Regions from separate parts of the Homo sapiens genome. Here region 2 is linked to region 1. Evidence: promoter capture Hi-C in human tissues and cell types (Jung and others, 2019). All regions are on one chromosome and are shown on one strand. Each heading gives the region's core, a stretch centred on a gene start or on the middle of the fragment in contact. The rest is flanking DNA. Distances are from core to core; before and after follow the strand shown. Region 1 holds the start of PIK3R5 (phosphoinositide-3-kinase regulatory subunit 5). Region 2 overlaps STX8 (syntaxin 8).

Region 1 (3,887 bases), core at 360-2,859:
CCTCTCTCAGCCCTTGGTGGCTCTGGTTCCTTCTCTGTGAAAGGGTGACGTGTGGGGAAGGGGTTGGGGATGAGGTAGGAGAGGGGGTCTGAGTTCCTTCCCACGTCTAACGATGGCTGGAACCAGGCCTCTGTGTTCAACCAAGGGTACTTTCTGTTTCTGTCCATTTGGGGAAGTTGCTTTTTCTTGGTATTTCGGGAGTCAGGAAAAGAAAAGTCATTGGTGTTCATATCTCTCAAAGCCTCAGGTAGGGCTGCGGCTTTTGACCAACAATAACGTATGACCATGACCTTGTGGCCGAGTTTGCACGCCTCTAACAGATATTATGACACAGTTCCATTCAATAGTGGAAGTGGAGATTTCAGCGTTGCCCTTTGTTAACCCACAAATGAAGTGCTACTCTTCCATTGTGAGGGCTGTCGGAGCAGTAGCCAACCTTCTTATCCCCATTTTTTAAACGAGGGAAAGGAGGCATAGGAAGCGCAGTGTCTTGTGGGATTCCCTGGGGAGTCCTTCCAACTCTTGGTAGAGCATCATCTGCAACGTCGTCTGGGGGAGAAAAGGGGGAGGCAAGAAGAGGGCCTTGACCCTGGAGGCAGGAACTCCCGCACACCCTCACTCCCTTCCCCAGGGGCTGGGGAAACCACTCAGGTGACAGTAGCCTTGGTGCCGGCCAGGGAGGGCGGGAAGTCCAGCCAGAGGCTGGAACAGCAGTGCTGAACGCCGGGACTGGCTGGTATTTCTATGAAGGTTCCTGCAGAAGGATGCGGGTCAAGGTGCCCGTCTGCACAGCAGTAGTGCAGGCATTTTAAGGGTTAAGGGCACCCAAAGAAAATAGAAGTAGGGGCCGGGCGCAGTGGCTCACGCCTGTAATCCCAGCACTTTGGGAAGCCGAGGCGGGCGGATCACGAGGTCAAGAGATCGAGACCATCCTGGCCAACATGGTGAAACCCCGTCTCTAGTAAAAATACAAAAAATTGGGCGTGGTGGCGCGCGCCTGTAGTCCCAGCTACCCGGGAGGCTGAGGCAGGAGAATCGCTTGAACCCGGGAGGCGGAGGTTGTGGGGAGTCAAGATCGTGCCACTGCACTCCAGCCTGGCGACAGAGCGAGACTCCATCTCAAAAAAAAAAAAAAAAAAAAGAAAGAAAATAGAAGTAGGAAGAGGAAGTGGGTCGCAGTGAGAGAAGGAAGCAGCTCGTCGGAGCTTCCTCTTTCTCGTCTTTCCCCTAAGCCCCTACCCCAGACCTGCCCCCCTGCTCCGCCCAGCCCTCCTGCGGGGCCAAAGCCGCGCTTCCGACGCGGGGGCCTAACCTCCCCTTACTCCTTGGGGGTCGCTGGTGCTCCGCGCTGGTGCCCCTCGGGCCACTGCCATGGACCGGCCAGGGTCTGCTTCTTCCGAGGGCTGGCGGGTCAGAGCCGGGGCTGCTTCTCAGACGCCTTGCGGCCTCGGGGGCGTGACCCAGAGGATGTGGGGCCGGGCGCGCACCTGGCTGACGCTGCCGGGCCGCCAGGTGGCTGGAGAGGCCGGCTCCGCGGTCAGCCCCGCCCCATTAGGCCCCGCCCCCTGACAGGCTCCGCCCCGCCCGCCGGAGGAGCCCAGGCTGGGCAGATGCTGCGGCTCGCCGCGCGGCTCCAGCTGGGGCGCGGTGGTCCCGACGGTCACCCGAATCGCAGGGAGTCGCCGCTGGAGAGGGGCTCGGCGCCCGGCGGGGACTGCAGGTGTGTGACTGGGCGGCCAGGGCGGATGCGGAGGGCACGCATGGGAGCTCCAGGCAGAGCTGGAGCAAGCTGGGGACCGTCGGGGAGAGTGGGCTCCGCGAGCAGCCGCCGCAGCCCGAGGGCTGGACAGATCCTGCTATCTTCCGGCCCCGTGGACCTGGCCCACCGCGGGGGCAGCGGGTCTGCAAACCTGCGCTCCAGATAACCCCAGAGACTTAAGGGGCGTCGCGGGGACCACTTATCGTTATCCGGGTAACCTCTGCTGGGCGGCTCTGCGCAGCTGTGTCCTCAGCCTCCTGCCTCTGACACAGGACGCCCTGTGTCGTAGGGTCAGGTCCCCTGCCCGCTCCAGCGGGGAACTGTCCGTGAGCGTGGGCATCAGGGCTCTTGTGCCGTCAGAACCTGGGAGTCATGGAAGTGCCCGCGTAAGGCGCCCTCCGTCGAGCCTCACTCAGCCTGCTAGTTAGCCAGCCTTGGGCCCAGACGCGGCTGCTGTCCTAGAGAACTGCACGCTTTCTGCTCTCAGAGGATCTGTGTTTACACACTGGACATCCCCGCGTGACTCGTGTGTGTGTGTGTGTGTGTGTGTGTGTGGGCATGCGCATGTGCGCGTGCTGGCCCATCCCGGCCTGGGGTAAATACACAAAAAGTTCAGGTCAGTAGGAGGAAGGAGATTGTTCAGAAGGAAAAGGAAGGCGAGGTTAAAGCAGCAGGATGTGGTATAAAGCGAGTTAACAAGACTCGGAGTAGAGAGGAGGGGTGGGTTTAGGCAGAATAAGGGCTAAAAGTAGGCCAAGCCTGCCTCCAAGGTCCTCTCTGGACTGACACCCTCGTTTTCCTTCTGTGTCTTCTCATCCACCCCACACTTTCCTTCCTGCCCTCAGGACCACCTGTAAGGCACTGGCTCCCAGAGCTGACTGCAGGTAGGGCTCTCTTGGAGCCAACCCTACAACGTGGCTTTCCAGGGATGGGATCTGGAATCTGTAGTTTTCAAAACTTTGAATGAGCTCCTTAAGTGATGATGCTGAAGCCGTTGCTTGGGAACCATGCATGATGTGGAAAAGAGACCCAAGTTCCAACCGGATCCAGCTGTGTGACCTGCAGCATCACACTGTCCCCCAACCCAGCCTCAGTCTCCTGATTCATAAAATGGGCTGTCATACTGACCCATAGAGCTGTGTGGAATTATTATTATTATTATTATTGAGACAGGGTCTTGCTCTGTCACTCAGGCTGGAGTGCAGTGGCGTGATCATGGCTCACTGCAGCCTTAAATTCCCAGGCTCAAGCAATCCTCCGCCTCCGCCTCCCAAGTAGCTGGGATTACAGGTCAGCACCACGGCGCCCAGCTAATTTTTGTATTTTTTGTAGAGGCAGGGTTTTGCCATGTTGCCCAGGTTGGTCCCAAATTCCTTGAGCTCAAGCGATCCGTCTACCTTGGCCTTCCAAAGTGCTGGGATTATAGACATGAGCCACTGTGCCTGGCCCAGTGTGGAAAATTAAGTGAGGCATGTATGATGAGAACGGCTGCACGTGGGAGATGCTCCGTGGATGTTTGTAGAACGCTGGCTTCCGTGTTTCCTCGTTGTGGCTGTGGTGGTGTGGGTCTTTGCCTGTGGACCCGTGGAAGACAAAGAAGACAGTTTTGGATGGTCAAGCTACTTTCTTGCTTCAGGGCTCCCTCCCCTGCTTTTTGAAGCCTCACAAACCAGGACTGTGAGGGCAGGAAGGCTTGGGGTCTTTGTGTGCTGAGCCTCATTAGGGTTTTAAGAACCTCCCTCCTTTCATCTCTAGCTTACGAGAGGGATGATTCATTATCTTCCCTCCTCAGGCTGCAGTAGAAGCAGACAGTCTCTGCCTCCCTGCTTGCCTTTCCTCCCTCCCATTCACTGTTGATTATTGCCCTCAAGAATAACAGGTTGCCCAGCTACTCGAGAAGCTTAAGTGGGAGGATTGCTTGACCCCAGGAGTTCGAGGCTGCAGTGAGCTATGATCGCTTCACTGCGCTATAGCCTGGCAGACACAGAGAGACCCTATCTCAAGCAAACAGACAAACAAAAAAAAAAAAAGAAGAAGAAGAAGAAGAATAGGTTGGATGCTAACTGGTGGCACTGGGTGACAAGAGCATTTGGGGTTGATGTTGGCATGAGGATGAGAAGGCAGGGGT
Region 2 (3,760 bases), core at 1,065-3,564, 410 kb before region 1:
CAGCCTCGGGTGATCCACCCTCCTCGGCCTTCCAAAGTGCTTGGATTACAGGTGTGAGCCACTGCGCCCAGCCACTTTTTTTAACATCCCAAACTGAAATTTATCCAAGACAATAATTCCCTATTCCTCCCTCTTTCAGCCCTTGGTAACTACTTTTCTACTTTCTGTCTCTGTAGATATGATTATTCTAGGTACCTATTGTAAGCGGGATCATATGTATACTTTTATATCTGGCTTATTTAGGGTGATGTCTTCAAGATTCATCCATGTTGTAGTGTGTATCAGAATTTCATTGCTTTGTAAGGCTGAATAATAATTCCATTTTATGTATATATCACATTTTGTTTATCCATTTGTCAGTGGACACAGGTTGTTCCACCTTTTGGCTATTGTGAATAATGCCACCATAAATGTTGCTGTACAAATAGCTGCTCAAGTCTTTCCTTTTTTGTGTATATATACAGAAGTGGAGTTGTTGGATAAAATGGTAATTCAGTTTTTAAATGTTTGAGGAACCTTCATATTAGCCTGGCTTGGTTTTGCTTTCAGCCTCTAAACTCTTAGGTACTTTCCAGTATTTTCTTTTTCTTTTTCTTTTTCTTTTCTTTTCTTTTTTTTTTTTTGAGATGGAGTCTTCTTGCTCTTGTTTCCCAGGCTGGAGTGCAATGGCATGACCTCAGCTCACTGCAACCTCCGTCTCCCAGGTTCAAGCTATTCTCCTGCCTCAGCCTCCTGAGTAGCTGGGATTACAGGCATGCACCACCACGCTGGGCTAATTTTTGTATTTTTGTTAAAGACAGAGTTTCTCCATGTTGGTCAGGCTGGTCTCGATCTCCTGACCTCAGGTGATCTGCCCACCTCAGCCTACCAAAGTTTTGGGATTACAGGCGTGAGCCACCGCGCCTGGCCCACTTTTCAGTATTTTCCTTAAAAAAAAAAAAAAAAAAAAAATGAGGGCTGGGCGTGGTGGCTCATGCCTGTAATCCCAGCACTTTGGGAGGCCGAGGCGGGTGGATCACAAGGTCAAGAGTTCAAGACCAGCCTGGCCAACATGTTGAAACCCTGTCTCTACTAAGAATACAAAAATTAGCCAGGCGTGGTGGTGCGTGCCTGTAATCCCAGCTAGTTGGGAGGCTGAGGCAGGAGAATCGCTTGAACCCGGGAGGCAGAGATTGCAGTTAGCCGAGATCATGCCACTGCACTCCAGCCTGGGCAAAAAAGCATGACTCCATCTCAGAAAAAAAATTAATAAATAAAAATAAAAATAATTTTTTTAATCTGATAAAGCCAGACACTTCTGTAGCCTGAGAGGGGCAGGCAAATGGGGTGGAAATTTAGTCCCTGGGCACCCACTCTAATTAGGAAATGTCATGGGAGACCCTTCCCACAAGAAACTGGGACCCCAAAGAGCTACACCCTCAGAGTAAAAGTGAACCAGAACTAAACTTACCATGGGGGGTTGTGGAAAGGGCAGCGTTGGCACTGAGCAGAATAGGAGAAGAAAAAGACGGGAGGGAAAATACAGTATTGACAACTTGTGGTCACAGAAAGGCCCACATGTGAATTTGCCCCCTGGACATACATACTCAGGGTAGACCGGGAAACATCATACCATGAATTTGGTTTGAGGCAGACTCACCTGTTATAGCTCGAGGTGCCTGGCAAAAACAAATGAAATGCCTCTGGAGGAAAGCATATTCTAGGATGCTAGGAGCCAACTAAAAATAAATTTCTAAGGGCAATGACCAGCACATAGTCAAATATATTCTAGCATACCCGGAAACAGCACAGCATGAGTGAGGACCAGCAATAGACCATGGACATGAATCTGAACAGAATTGCAGTAGTAGAATTATCAGACGTTGATTATAAACTCAATTCCACTTTTTAAAATATATTTTAAAAATGACAAGCTTGAAAGCATCTTAAGAAACCCGAAAACTATAATAAGTAACACAGAAATTTTGAAAAGGGACCAGATAGAACTTCTAGAAATAACAGGTAACTGAAATTAAAAAATCCAGTGAACATATTTGGTATCAGCAGAAGAAAGAATCAACCAGAGGACAAACCAGAAGAAAGAAAAAAAAAAAAAGCATAATCCATTTGATAAATGTTAGCATCTTGAAGAGAATGCCCAAATGCTAGGCAGTTAAATTATGATCTTAATAAGAAAGGCGTTTGAGGGGCAGAGGGTTGGTGCAAGAGCTTCGAGATACAGCGAAGAGTTAACCACCTGCTCTTCTCAAGTGCAAAGCCACATTGGCTGTTTTATATATGAACACATACAAATGCATAATCAAACTGCAAGCAAGGTGTACTTTAACTATAGGGGGTGGGAATTAAGCAGCCCAGTGGAGTGTAACTCAATTACCATTCACAGGGCAATTCTATCACTGTTTAAGAGGACTTGGGTGCAGTGTGGATAGCAGCCGCCACATCATCATTTTACACAAAGGAGTGTAAAAATAGGTTGTGAATCATGAAATGGCCTTTTGTTTCGCTACCCTTGGCATATCTTCCTTGATGGGCCGATGTATCAGTCATAGATGCTTGAGCAGTGAGAGAATTTCTAGTTATGAATACAGACTGAACTGCAAGGGGCCACACAGGAGAGAGGCCCGATGATGAATTTGTTTGTTCAGTTCTTAACAAGGGATTCAAGTACCTCTTTGTGAACCTTTCACTCAGGAGCACAGGCTTTAAAATTTTTACCGAGATTTTTGTGTGGATTTTCCTCCCTTTTCCTCCCTCAACCCCACCCCAATGATAGCATCAAGTAGAAAACAATACTGTTTTTTTTTTTTTCTAGCTTCTAAATGCAAATTAGACTGATATTTTTCCACTGGTACCTCTATGTATTTTCAGATCTGTTACTTCCATTAAGGACATTTACATAAAAGTAGGATCTTTGTAATTGCAGTTTAAATATTCAGTGTGCTTGGTCCTCATTAGAATTCAAAATAGAGCCTTGTCTGAGTCTGACAGAGGGCGCCAATTGTGAAAGACCAGACTAAGAATTCTGAATGACTCGGGTGGATGTACAGTCTTGCTTCTCAGCATATTGACTATTACGTAATGTTGTCTAAGCACGTTTATTGTGATTTTAGTAGTGTTTCAGTGATGTGGTTAGAAATCAACCCAGCTGACATTGCATTAATGCTGTCTCAATCGACGACCATTGGATCTGCCTTCAGCTCATCTGAATGTGATCTTCTTAGGGAGGTGGGGCAGGACCCTGGTTAAGAGTAGTAGCATGCAGCACAGGTGTGGCGTCCGACAGTCCTGGGGCACAATTTGGGATCTGCCACTTACAGCCTGGGTGACTTAGAGAGCTGCTTGCCCTCTCTAAGTCTCAGTTCCCTTCACTCTAAAAGGAGGATAGCAATTAGTAGTACATGTGATTGTTCTGTAGACTAAGTGAGAACAGTTAGGTGGCACAATGACTAGTACTAGTGAGTCCTTTATAAATGCCAGCTATGATAAGATGTGGGGTTTAATTCATTTTTGTTTTTTGAGATGGAGTCTTGCTCTTTCGCCCAGGCTGGAGTGCAATGGTGTGATCTCGGCTCACTGCAACCTCCGCCTCCTGAGTTCAAGTGATTCTCCTGCCTCAGCCTCCCAATTAGCTGGGATTACAGGTGTGTATCACCATGCCTGGCTAATTTTAGTATTTTTTAGTAGAGACGGGGTTTCACCATGTTGCTTAGGCTGGCCTCAACCCCCCAGCCTCAAGTGATTGCCTGCCTCAGCCTCCCAA

The links. Contacts are between HindIII fragments. The study calls those that stand out against the background at their distance.
Region 2: a contact is called between a fragment that was not itself captured here and the fragment with the promoter of PIK3R5 in region 1, in 1 of the 25 tissues and cell types used here (thymus).

Annotation. Positions count from the first base shown.
Region 1 is chr17:8,963,429-8,967,315 of GRCh38, reverse strand. It overlaps PIK3R5 (phosphoinositide-3-kinase regulatory subunit 5), which reads left to right and starts at 1,609. Exons shown (of 19, transcript NM_001142633.3): 1 at 1,609-1,720. PIK3R5-DT (PIK3R5 divergent transcript) reads right to left here and starts at 1,469. Exons shown (of 3, transcript NR_184080.1): 1 at 1,313-1,469; 2 at 1-549. RefSeq lists silencers at 1,196-1,295, 1,366-1,685. The HindIII fragment of the contact is 11,271 bases long and covers 1-3,887 here.
Region 2 is chr17:9,369,971-9,373,730 of GRCh38, reverse strand. The region is part of intron 7 of STX8 (syntaxin 8); the gene reads left to right. Among named protein-coding and RNA genes, the nearest start is that of STX8, 200 kb to the left of the region's middle. The HindIII fragment of the contact is 5,571 bases long and covers 1-3,760 here.